Linked DNA regions of Homo sapiens: region 1 is linked to region 2. The links are contacts of gene promoters, found by promoter capture Hi-C in human tissues and cell types (Jung and others, 2019). All regions are on one chromosome and are shown on one strand. The core of a region is centred on a gene start or on the middle of the fragment in contact, and the rest is flanking DNA. Distances in the headings are between cores, read along the strand shown. Region 1 overlaps ENPEP (glutamyl aminopeptidase). Region 2 holds the start of PLA2G12A (phospholipase A2 group XIIA).

Region 1 (6,725 bases), core at 1,125-3,624, 770 kb before region 2:
ACACTTGGACACAGGAAGGAGAACATCACACACCAGGGCCTGTCGTGGGGTGGGGGGAGCGGGGAGGGATAGCATTAGGAGATATACCTAATGTAAATGACGAGTTAATGGGTGCAGCACACCAACATGGCACATGTATACATATGTAACAAACCTGCACGTTGTGTACATGCACCCTAGAACTTAAAGTATAATAATTAAAAAAAAAGAAAACATCGAATAAGAAGAATCAATATTGTTAAAATGGCCATACTGCCCAAAGCAATTCACAGATTCAGTGGTGTTCCTATCAAACAACCAGTGATAGTTTTGACAGAATTAGAAAAAAACTATTTTAAAATTTATATGGCACCAAAAATATAATTGCCAAGGTAATTTTAAGCAAAAAGAAAAAGCTGGAGGAATCACATTACCTGACTTTAAACTATACTACAAGCCTATAGTAACCAAAACAGCATGGTACTAAGACAAAAATAGACACACAGACCAATGACACAGAATAGAGAGCCCAGAAATAATGCCATACACCTGCAACCATCTGATCTTCAACAAAGTTGACAGAAAGAAGCAATAGGGATAAGACTCTCTATTCAATAAATGATGCTGGGATAACTGACTAGCCGTATGCAGAAGATTGAAACTGGACCCCTTCCTTACACCATATACAAAAGTCAACTCAAGACAGGTTAAAAAGTGTAAAACCTAAAACTATAAAAACCCTGGAAGATAACCTAGGAAATACCATTCCAGACATAGGACCTGGCAAAGATTTCATGACAAAGATGCCAAAAGAAACTGCAACAAAACCATAAGTAGGCAAATGGACTTAAACTAAAGAGCTTCTGCACAGCAAAAGGAACTATCAATAGAGTAAACAGACAACATACAGAATGAGAGAAAATATTTGCAAACTATGCATCCAACTAAGGTAAAATATCCAGAATCTGTAAAGAACTTAAATCAGCAAGCAAAAACAAACAACCCTATTAAACAATGGGCAAAGGATGTGAACAGACACTTTTCAAAAGACACTTTTCACATATGGCCCACAAGCATATGAAAAAATGCTCAACATGACTAATCATTAGAGAACTGCAAATCAAAACCACAATGAGATACTATCTCACCCAGTCAGAATGGCTATTATTAAAAGGTCAAAAAATAACATGCTGGCAAACTTGTAGAGAAAAAGGAACACTTATACACTGTTGGTGGGAATGCAAATTAGTTTATCCATTGTGGAAAGCAGTTTGGCAATTTCTCAAAGAACTAAAGCAGAATTACCAAATGATCCAGCCATCTTATTACAGGATATATATACCCAAGGAAATATAAACTGTTCTGCCGTAAAGACACAGGCCTCCATACGTTCATCACAGCACTATTCACAGTAGCAAAGACGTGGATGGAATCAACTTATTTTCATCAACAGTAGACTGGATAAATAAAATGTGGTATATATACAGCATGGACTACTTCACAGCCATAAAAAAGAATGAGATCATGTCCTTTGCAGCATCATGGATAAAGCTGGAGTCTTTTATCCTAAGAGAACTAGCATAGCAGCAGAGAACCAAATACCACATCTTCTCACTTATAAGTGGGACCTAAACATTGAGTACTCATGGACCCCAAGAAGGAAGCAATAGACATCAAGGCCTACTTGAAAGTAGAGAGGGAGGAGGGTGAGAATGAGAAAACCACCTATCGGGCACTATGCTTATTACCTGAGAAGTGAAACAATCTGTACACCAAACCCCTATGACATGCAATTTACTATATAGCAAACCCGTACATATACCCCTGAACCTAAAATAAAAGCTTAAAAAAGAAATATTTTACAGAAGTTACCATAAAAAAATCAGGTCATAGATTTTATTCTATAACTGCTACTTTGATCAACAGAGCCAAACAATCAGAGAATATATAGCTACAGCCCATTAATTTTGTAACATATTAAGCCAAAGCATAACTGTGTCTTAACTACCATATATCACAAACATTTTTATATTAAAGACTCTACCAACATGCCAACATTTTCTGTCGTTTAAAGCTCCAACATGGTTTCTGTAATCCGTGTAACAACAGAACATCTGTGATGCTTGGATTTGGTGATTTTGAAAGCATCCTCCCTTGTGCTGATGCCTTCACTCATCCTCACCACACTTTTCCCGCTCTCTGACCCCACCTTTAATGTATGCTCCATCTGCATCTCCTTCTCCTCTCTCTGGGCTTTGGCAGAGGTGACTGACTCTCCCCTATCATCTGCTAAGCCTCAGCACTTCTGTACATGATAAAGTTCAGGCAATTACCCCTGACTCGTCATCATTATTTAATAATTGACATTTTTCTAGTTTATGTGCTTGCTTTACTGAGATGATTTTTTAAGCGTGTGACAACCCATACTGAAATAACATGGAGTGAGGAGGGATGCATACATGTATTTTCTTTCTTCTTTATCTTTTAAAAGAGTCATATATGACTTTTTAAATGTAAGAACCCTATTAACGTTTAAATATAAAGTTCGTATGTCTACTTTATCACTTTATATGTAAACATTATATATAAACATAAATATGAAGTTTATAAGTCTTCAAGAACCTAACTTTCATGCATATATTTACTTTTTGAAGACAGTAACTTCCCTAGGCAAATTAAATTACCTGGTATACTACTGTTGGATACCATTAGTCGTCTTTCAAAGCACTGAATCTATGGAGCTAGTATCAGTGGAAAAACTTTGGGCTTTATACAGCCTTATTCAGCTGATATTCTTTTGGGAGGTAAGACATATCTGCTTTAACATAGCTTTTGCTTTTCCCTTATCATATTGGAGCCTGCTGTAATGTAGGCTCTTAGAGTTCTTAATGTTATCCCTTTCATTCAAGTGTCTCAAACCATTTGAGAGATAGAACTTAAGTCCATGAGAATCGATTCCTGGTTGATTACCATTACTTCCTTTACGTGTCCCTTTGCCACACTTGACTTCACTTGACAATCATGACTAGATGCATTAGATCAATCTTCCTTGAACAATTTAATGAGGCTGTGCACCATCTTTATCTTCAATGATTATTTATGTCCCTGCAACCAAAACCAAGCACAAAGCTCAGCGATAGTATTATGATTACTTATTAGTCTTATTATTGAGAACTTAAATTTTTTCAAGGAATGTGATAAGCATTTTCCATGCAACATTTCTTTTACTCCACACGTCAATTCTATGAATCCAGAATTATTAATAATAATAGAAAAAATATTTTGCATCACTGATAATTACCCCAATCCGTTCACTGGTCCAGTTCCCACAACCCCTAATCCACACTAATAAATCCAATGAGTTCTAAAACTTTTTATATGTTTAAGCAAACTAATTTGGCAATATCATATGACCTGAACTGTTAAGAGTTTTTCAAAAATCTTTATTTTTCTCACTATAAAAAATTGCTGCAGAAGTATCACTGATTATAAGACATTGCCCCAAATCCCACTGTAGTTAATCATTAACATATAGTATTCAAACTACATTACCTTTCACAAATCTGAAAATTTCTGAATTCCAACATACAACTGGCCATGAGGGTTTGGGACAAGGATTGTAGACCTCTATTTATAATTTTAGAGTTTGAAGGTGATTTGAAAATAAACTTCCTCATTGTATACATGAGAAAAATGAAGTCTAAGACAGGACCGACGCTAGAGTTCAGGACAAAGTTTGTTTTCACATATCATGCTGCCTATTTTCTCTACTTATAAGACTGAATCTTGACCTCCCCAGCTGTAAAATAGATATAACAACAGCACTTATGTCATAGGGTTATTTCGAGTATTAAATAACACATAAGCAATGTTTGACATGTAATAGTTCTATGTGTCCCATCAAAAGTGTTAGTATCATTAGAGATAATACACTGAATTATTAACCTCTGTAATTTTCTGTGTGCGTACTTCCTTATATGTGATTGATACTTACACTATGGTGTCCACATTGCCAGTAAGAACATTGAAAAATGCAGGGGAAAAAAATAAATGTTATGGTTTTGACTTTCAAAATAGGCTCTTGATGCCCACACAACACATTTAAAAGCCCAAACTTTTTGGATTGTAAGGGCCTGGTTTCAAAAGACTTTTAGCAATAAAAACAGAAGGCCAGGAAAAAAGCAAACCACAGGGTTTTTAACTCTAATAATAATTGAAAAGAGAATAAAGAGATGTCCAGGCTACTCTGTCTCAAAAAACTAGACAAAATTTACCTGGGCCAGGGAAGGTGAGGGAAGGTTGAAGGGACAAGACCTGAAACAGACCCTGAAAGAGTGTGAGGGGACTGAGATGAGAACCTTGAACTTGGAAAGACCATGGAACAGAAAAGAATCAGCTTAAACAGACTGCCCGTTACCACTGCCACCGTCACCTGGGTCAGAAGCCAGGCAGGGCCCTGCATGATTCCACCTGGAAAGTGCCGCAGCCCCGCTGTGCCCTGGATCCACATCCTTATTGTCCTTGTCTATTGAGTGTTTTCTATTGATAGAGGTGACCATACATTCAGGTTTGCCCAGGAATGTCCCTGGAATGTAAATCTGTTGCTTACCTGTTTATACGTCTTGTTCCAGCTTAATTAATAACACCTCCTCTATTATTTATTATATATATATTTATAGATGATAAATTATATGGTCACTCTACTTATTGACAGCAGCCTGACTTTTCACTGCTGATCATCCCGCAGAAGTAGCACCATTTACCTCTTGAGGTTTTTTTTGCAAGGTCTCATCTGAGCTGTTCCAAAGAGCCACATCATTTTAAATGACGAGCATGCTTAAAGGATCCCCCAAAAACAAGCTGAGATCCTTGGCACTCAGGGCTAGTAACACCAAGAAAGACCTGAAAACACACTTGGGTGGCACAGGGCAGTGGTGACTGTATCTGGTGCACATCTTAATTGAAGTACAGATATCAGCATATTTCACTCTCTTCAGGGTTTAGCATCCTCCAGTGCACATAGTAGATGCTCAATAAAAATGTACACAATAATCAGTTTGAAGAAACTGTTTCATTATCAATACTGAGGTAGCCAGGATGAGAAAGAGAAAATAAATCTATATTGTTTTTAAATATATAAATGCATATTTAAGGTACATAGCTGGTATTACTGAACATGCCATTAATGTGTTAAATTTTATAAAGTTTATGTTCTTTTAAATATTCTTCCAGTAGTAGGTGGAAAGTTAGCAGAGGAGGGTACTTAGTTGAAAGGAATAGTGATACATCAGTTTTTTTCTTTTTAAGTTCTGCCTTATCAATGTGATATATTCTTTCTAAATTTTAGTTTGCTCCTTCCTCATAGATAAATTAGTATGAATATGCAAAACCTTGGTTTGAAGTTTAGGTGAAAAAACACCTTTTTTTCCGCTGTAGCTATGCTGGTTCAAAACATGTTCGGACTCTGAGTCGGAACTCACCTGCTATGAATTGCTGTTTAAGAAGAAACTCAGCACGGCCATTAGGTTACACAAAGCATTTATTGGCCACTTACTTTCCATTTAAGTTAAAATTTAAGTTGTCTGATGCTTAGTGATTATTACTGCAGTATAATTTTTAAGAAATTAAAAAATGAACATTAAAAAATCTAAATTACCCCATAAAATCTTACATTATTTTTATTATTTTGTTTATATTTTTGTAAATTTAAATAAAAAATAAGAATCATTAGCAATCCTCCGTGGCTTACTAAATTAAACAGTTTCCTTCAAGGGAGATTAATAACCTTCCATTTAAAGATAACCCTTCCAGTAAAGAAATTAATTAAAAAAAACTAATTAAAATGTTCTAGAAATCAAATTCATTCTGAAAACTTAGCAAAGCCACAGCCAAAATAAGTTTTTAAAATAATGAAATGACCATATGTCAAAAATAATTCTGAGGAAAACAGAAAAATCACCTTTAGAACACCACAATAACAGTTGTTGTGGACATCCACTGGGGAATGCTACAATAAGTGGTCAAAACCTGAAGAACTAACAGGATATTCACATAGCCTTTAATTATCACTCCCTAAATATTTATTAATCACTGTGGTGGTCATAATGTATATCCATAAATTCTTTGTGACTCCTCCCTCCAGGAAGTAGAGCTTAACTCTCTTCCCCTTGGGTGTGGACTGCATTTAGCGATTGCTTCTAAAAAACAGAAGATTGGAATAAAAAACTAGTAAACTGAAGCAGAGAAACCTAGCAGACACCATCTCAACCAAGTGATCAAAGTTAGCATCACCAGGAATAAGTCATGAGGATGTCATGTACCCCCTGATAGGATGTGATGAAAAGGACCCTTCACCTCTGTGGTATTCTCCAAAATCCAAAGCCTCAGTCTAATCTTGAGGAAACATCACACAAACCCAAACTGAGAAACTTTCTACGAAATACCTGAACAGTACTCTTAAAAAGTGTCAGGATCATAAAAAAGAAAAAAACTGAGAAATGTCATATATCAGAATGAATTAAGGAGACAGCATTGCTAAGTATAATGTAGATGTATCATCTATTGGATTTTGGAATAGAAAAGGCACATTAGTGAAAAAACTGGTGAAATCCAAGTAAAGACTGTTGTTTAGTTAATAGTATTGTATTACATTGATTTCTTAGATTTGACGAATGTTTGATAAATGGTTATATAAGATATTAACATTAAGGGAAGGTTACATGGAGACTCTTGTGTCTTTGCAACTC
Region 2 (6,842 bases), core at 1,491-3,990:
TCTTGGCTCATTGCAAGCTCTGCCTCCCGGGTTCACGCCATTCACCTGCCTCAGCCTCCCGAGTAGCTGGGACTACAGGTGCCCGCCACCATGCCCAGCTAACTTTTTGTATTTTTAGTAGAGACAGGGTTTCACCGTGTTAGCCAGGATGGTCTCGATCTCCTGACCTCGTGATCTGCCCATCTCAGCCTCCCAAAGTGCTGGGATTACAGGCGTGAGCCACCGCACCCGGCCATCACCTTGAAATTCTTAATTTTTGAGCAAGGGGCTCTGTATTTTTATTTTGCACTGAGCCCTACAAATTATACAGATAGTCTGTGGTCAGTGCAGATCCCTGGTATTTAACAGCATCAATTAAGAGGAAAACGTAAACCTTGTAATTACTGCAGCAGAACAACAAATATATAATGATTAAATGTGAAAAGAATGTGAAAATAAAACTTAGAGTCTTGTTTTCTACAAAAATGGTGGTGATTCTCATGGGGAAGACAGTGGAAAGATTTGCTTGAGAGAAAGAGAACAGCTGCATCAAGCCAGAAGAACTGGCATTTGAGAATTTAATCCCTAAGGAGAGATCAGACAAAGAAAACTACGTCTGATTCCTCAGAGTATAGGCTGTAGTTAAGGTGTAAGAAATTAGATGAGATCACAAAGAAGTAAATAAATAGAGAAAGTGGGGGAAAGGAGAGGCTTTGGGTCATAACTGAGGGCTGGAACTAGGTTATTTTATTACATTCTATCCTTTCTTTTGAAAGTCTTGTCCCTGGACTAGGGAGTTGTAAGAACCAAGCCTGGTTTAAGGATTCAGGTGGTGGTATCTCAGAGGTAATCTAGTCCAACTTTCATACTTTGGAGCTGAGAAACCAATGTTCCAGAAAGCTAAGACAATGATTCTAAGTTCCCTTTTTAAAATGTATTGAAATGTGTTGTCTAAAAATTAAAAAATAAAAATATCTGTGGTATTTTGTGAAGACAGAGGCCTTGGTTTGGAGTAGATACTGTCACATGACTTCTCACCTCGACTCTTTTATTGTAAAAGAGGAAGATAATAATACCTTCCAGGGAACATTCTTCCCCCTTCTCCATTGTGGTAGGAATTAATCACTGCCCAAGACTCCTGGTTGAGGGGCTGAGTGAAGTGCAGGCAGTCTCCAGCCAGGAGCTACACCGTTTGTTGGGCTACCCTGTTTGTAGGGAGGAATGCCTTTCTATGTTTCTAACTTGCCCAAAGTCTGCATCCTTGTAAAGTAGTGTTCTGAATGTGAGCGATCATATTCATGAAGTGCCTGGCACATAGTAAGCACTCAATAAAGAGGGATGTAATTTTTATGAACTGTGCACTGAACGTTTATTATAAGCTCATTTAGTTTGTAACAAACACAAAAGGCCAAACCTAGAACTTATTGGTAATTCTTATAGAAAGGACACACCTATGCCCAATACTTACTCACTTTCTTTTTTTTTTAGAGTCTCGCTCTGTGCCCCAAGCTGGAGTGCAGTGGTGCAATCTCAGCTCACTGCAACATCCATCCACCTCCTGGGTTCAAGTGATTCTCCTGCCTCCGCCTCCCGAGTAGCTGGGATTACAGGTGCCCGCCACCACGCCCAGCTAATTTTCTGTATTTTTGGTAGAGATGGGGTTTCACCATGTCAGCCAGGCTGGTCTCGAACTTCTGACCTCAGGAGTTCCAGGCCTCCCAAGGTGCTGGGATTACAGGCGTAAACCACCGCGCTTGGTCTGCCCAATACTTTCAACATTGCTCTGGATCTTACTGTAAAATTCTTGGAAACTGCTGTGATACTAAGATAACCAGATATTTACAACTGATACAAAGTACTACTGCAATAGTTATTTATGGATCCCGCACAATGCTGGGGGCAGGGTGGTAGGTACAGAGAAACAAACGTCACTGTAACTATCAAGTTACAAAATCCCTTGAGTAGAAAAACAATGACTTCCTTAAGATTTATTTTACTTTTTACTGTATTTAAGTTTACACTACTGTTTCTTCCTTACCAGGGGAGAATTTTATGATTTTTATGTTGGCCCATTTTCTTTTTCCGGAAAGTCTAAACTAGCATTTAGCTCGTCCTGATTAGAGTCAGGCACCGCCAAGGCATGGGTTGGCATCTTCCAGATCCCGCTCCCCCAACCGCGGCCACAGCAGATCTGGAGGACCGGGAGAGGACGCAAGGAGGAAAAGCCCTGCTCTGCGAGCTGACAGCCGGACTCTGCCCACATTGCCAATGGAACCACGTCTTCAAGCCGGAAACTCAGCTGGACCTCTCGCAGCGCTCTCTGCGAGGGGGCACAGGGGTTATTTTCTCCGATGTTGTCCACACCCAGAAAAGCTTGTCTCTCGGGGCTACTGTGCTGAGCCCCGACTGGTCAGGTTAGGCCACCGGGGTTAGCTCTGCAACTCTTGCTTCACGGTTAACAGCCCGGAGAGCTTTCTTAAAAAATACCGACGCCCACTGCCACCTGGGACAACGTAATCAGGCTCCCTAGAAAAGGGGCTCAGGCCTGGGTACTTTTTAAGGTTCTCTTGTGAACCAGGACCAAGGGTCTTGGGAGGGTGCCGCGGAGACCACGTGGGCATGGAGGCCCCGCCCCCGTTTCCCGCCCCGCGCGCCCCTCCCCCGGTTCCCCGCCCCCCCCAACCCCGCCCCCGCCCCGCCCCACCCCTGCGCGTCCCGCCCCTCCCGTGCGCCGCTGACGCGCCGTGCTCCGGCGCAGGCGCACAGGGGACGGTTGCTGGCCCAGGTGAGCGGGCGCGCTGGTCCAGGTGAGCGGGCGCGTCCCCGCGACGGCGCTGCCTGCCCGAGGCGGTTCACGTAAAGACAGCGAGATCCTGAGGGCCAGCCGGGAAGGAGGCGTGGATATGGAGCTGGCTGCTGCCAAGTCCGGGGCCCGCGCCGCTGCCTAGCGCGTCCTGGGGACTCTGTGGGGACGCGCCCCGCGCCGCGGCTCGGGGACCCGTAGAGCCCGGCGCTGCGCGCATGGCCCTGCTCTCGCGCCCCGCGCTCACCCTCCTGCTCCTCCTCATGGCCGCTGTTGTCAGGTGCCAGGAGCAGGCCCAGACCACCGACTGGAGAGCCACCCTGAAGACCATCCGGAACGGCGTTCATAAGATAGACACGTACCTGAACGCCGCCTTGGACCTCCTGGGAGGCGAGGACGGTCTCTGCCAGTATAAATGCAGTGACGGTGAGGGGGCACCCGGGCCCAGCGAGGGCTCGTGCTTTCGGGGGATTGGGGTGACGGAGATCCTGGAGGTGTGAGTGACAGATGCAAGGCAGACCTTGACGGTGTCCTTCGGCTGTGGAAAAACTTAACCACTGCTAGAATCTTGCCGTTCTAGTGATTGAGCAAGCTGGGTACAAGTTCGCACCACTATTGTTAGAATGTGAGAGGTCACATTCTAACGGAGAGGTGTACCCCCCGTCCCATTTGCATTGCTTCTGAATTACCTTTTCCCCCCCTCAATTGCACCAAGTTGCCGAAGAACTTACTGACGTAGGAATCATGGGAATAGAGTGGAACAGACTGGTTTTAGCTCATTTTTGCTTCTGTAAATTGGATGAACATGCGAAGCAAACTGAGAATTTAAAAACCATGCCGTATTAACTTTCTCTATAATTGATATTAAATGGTTTTTTTTCTGCAAACCCATAGACAATAACTTGCGACCTTTGTACAGACTTTTGGTGTACTCGAGTGTTGAGAAAGGGTTCCGATAACTCTTCTTTCCTTAGATATCAGTGACCCGCCTCCTCCTCATTGTTGGTTAACGTTAATACAGTTATCTTCATTTACTCTTTTAATATTTTTTGAACTTTCTCTTTGAACCTGAGAATTTGTTTGGTGGCGGTATGAGTACTAATCAACTCAGTATTTCAGGCAGAGATAGTTCTTTTGTAGCACATTTTTGAGTGCTTAAATATTTTAATAGGTCAGAAAAATATTGGACTTTTGTTTGGAAATTGAAAATGTTAAGAGAGCAGTTGGGAGATCATGTTTCCAATAAGATTAGCCAAGGTTAGAGTCTCATTATGCTGGCAGCGGAAAATAATCGGGGATCCAGTGACTTCATTGTTGGAACCTGATTGTATAGGTGAACTTAAAAGGAACTGGTATCATGTAAACCTATGATGCCACATGCTGCCTGCAATTTTCAAGATAATTTCTAGTTTTATGTTAATAGAAGTAAAGGATGAACTGTATCTTGTATACTTTAAAGCGCTGAACAGGTGCTGAGACATGTTGCATTGCTTCTTAAATTTGTGCCTAAACGTTACCACCTAAACGTATGCTTCATGAAGATGTTTTTATTCTTGTAGAACTTGTTCGGAGGATTAAGTGCATAATTTAAGGATCAAATAGTTGCCTTTCCTAAAGCAAATGTTACAGTTTTACTTAGTCATTCCTATTCATTATACAAATATTTGAGTCCCAACTGTGCTTCAGATGTTGTTCTAATTTGAGATTCAGCAGTTAATAAAACAGACAAAAATCTCTGTCCGTGGAGCTTGAGTTCTGGTGAGGGAGAGATGGGCAGTAAACTAGTAAATAAGTAAAATTAGGGGAAGTGTGGAGTCTGATCAGGGCAGACGAGGGGCCATGTTGGAGGCAATTTACTCTTCTAAATGGGTTGTTCAGCAAAGGCCTCACTGATGAAAGAATATTTGAGAAGAAATCTGCACGTGGTAAGGGGAGGGAATGTGGTTATTTGGAGAAACAGCATTCCAGACAGAGGGAATAGCAAGTGCAATGGACCTGAGGAGAAAGGCCAGTCAAGGATGACTCTGAAGGTTTTGGCCTGAGCCAAAGGAAGGAAACGGTTGCCATTTACAGAGATAGGGAAGACTTGGAAGGAGTCGTCTTCATAAATTTATTAGTCTAGGGTTCTAGAGTTTATTTACATTTAAAACATGCCTGAAGTTGAATGAATACCAGCCTTGTTAAAATACTGTTTTAGTCTTTTTATTTTATTTTTTGTTAATATTTTTGAGGCAAGGTCTCCCTCTGTGCCCAGGCTAGAGGGCAGTGGTGTGATCATTGCTCCCTGCAGCCTCCAACTCCTGGGCTCAAGCAATTCTCCTGCCTCAGCTTCCCAAATAGCTAGGACTATAGGCCATGCCCCCACTACACCTGGCTTAATCTTTCTTTTTAATCTTTTTCATCTTCTACAGGCTTCTCAAAATTTACTATTTGGAGTTTAGAGGAAGGTCTCTGGCACAAAAAAACACAAAGGAATTTGAGAATTTAAGAAATGTTATATGCCTCAGTGAAAAAAAATTTTTTGTCTTAGTAAGTACTCTACGTTTAACGGACATGTGGTTTCAAGTCCAAGTCACCATACTGATAGATAATTGGATCTCAATGAAAAAAAAAATTAGGCAGGACGTAATGGCTCATGCCTGTAATCCCAGCACTTTGGGAGGCTGAGGCGGGCGGATCAGTTGAGCTCAGGAGTTCGAGACCAGCCTGGCCAACATGGTGAAACCCCGTCTCTACTAAAAATACAAAAATTAGCTGGGCATGGTGGTGCACACCTGTAGTCCCAGCTACTTGGGAGGCTGAGGTAGGAGAATAGCTTGAACCTGGGAGGTGGAGGTTGCAGTGAGCCGAGACCGTGCCTCCAGCCTGGGTGACAGAGCAAGACTCTGTCTCAAAAATAATAATAATAATAATAATAATAAAATTGCTGTTACTCGAGCAGTCTCTCTGGAACAATTCAACCTTTCCTATATTTTGGAATTCAGGTGACCAAATCAGAACCAAACAGAACAATCCCAAATCTGGAGAAACATGGTGATTAAGGGGTATTTTTAGTTGCACGAAAGAGATCAAGAGAGCTTTAAAAAAAAAAAAAAAGAGTGAGTTAATGGTAGGGAGAGGTTGGTCAAATAAAGGGCACATGTCCTTGCTTTACCTGAGGGACTGGCATTATGGAGACTTGCTCCCTTAGTTTTGGCCATCCTCTCTTGGGTAGGAAAAAGGCCTTATTGAGAGTTAAGTATTTAGGGAAATAAATTTGATGATCCGTTATTTTCTTCAACTTTTTTCTCCCTGACAGCAAGGAAGATTTAAGGAAGAAAACTTTTCGATTTCCTTTGAAAAATAGAACACAAAACTGGCTTGTAAATGTTTTTAGAATGATGAATAAGTCATTAATTAATTCAGTGACGTATGTTTTCTAGGATCCCTCTGGCTGTTGTGCTGAGAACAGAAGGGGTCAAGGGAGTGGGGGAGTAAAAATGGAAGCAGGGTGACGCATGCAGGAGTCCAGACAAAAGACGGGTGATTTTGCTCAGGTTGGTAGCAACAGAGGTAATGAGAAGTAGTTGGATTTTGGATATATTTTGAAGGAAGGACCTAAAAGATTTGCTGATGGCTTAGAAGTTAGGTATGAGTTAAGTCAAAAATGATACCACAGTTTTTGGCCTGAACAACTGGAAGGACAGAATTACCATTAACTGATATGGGGAAGACCGTGGAAAGAACAGTTTTCGGGCATTAGGAAAAATAATAACACATTTGTATGCTTTTGAGAATGGTTCAGTGGAGAGTAGAAATACTGACGAGGGAGAGAATTATTGGAGTCATAGCCTTGGGTAAGTGAGAGGGGGTAGTTTCTAGTACATACTTAGAGAGTTTGGCCAAGAGCATATAGCATAGCCCTGTTAATAGGAACACAGGTAGAGGATATGAGCACTGGTGCTGGTTAAGTGGGTGGATGTTCAAGTTCTCCTGATTGCCTGCTTTTTTCAGTAAAGTAGGAATCCAGGTCATCAGCTGACAGAGAAGATGGGGAATGGGGATGTTGGAGATTTGAGGA

The links. Contacts are between HindIII fragments. The study calls those that stand out against the background at their distance.
Region 1: a fragment that was not itself captured here is called in contact with the fragment with the promoter of PLA2G12A in region 2 in 1 of the 25 tissues and cell types used here (lymphoblastoid cells).

The regions. Positions count from the first base shown.
Region 1 is chr4:110,496,388-110,503,112 of GRCh38, reverse strand. The region is part of intron 3 of ENPEP (glutamyl aminopeptidase); the gene reads right to left. Among named protein-coding and RNA genes, the nearest start is that of ENPEP, 24 kb to the right of the region's middle. The HindIII fragment of the contact is 7,394 bases long and covers 1-6,071 here.
Region 2 is chr4:109,725,968-109,732,809 of GRCh38, reverse strand. PLA2G12A (phospholipase A2 group XIIA) reads left to right here and starts at 2,740. Exons shown (of 4, transcript NM_030821.5): 1 at 2,740-3,208. The coding sequence starts at 3,001. It also overlaps a transcript of CFI not described here. RefSeq lists enhancers at 1,746-2,622, 3,282-3,351 and a silencer at 2,612-2,951. The HindIII fragment of the contact is 10,778 bases long and covers 682-6,842 here.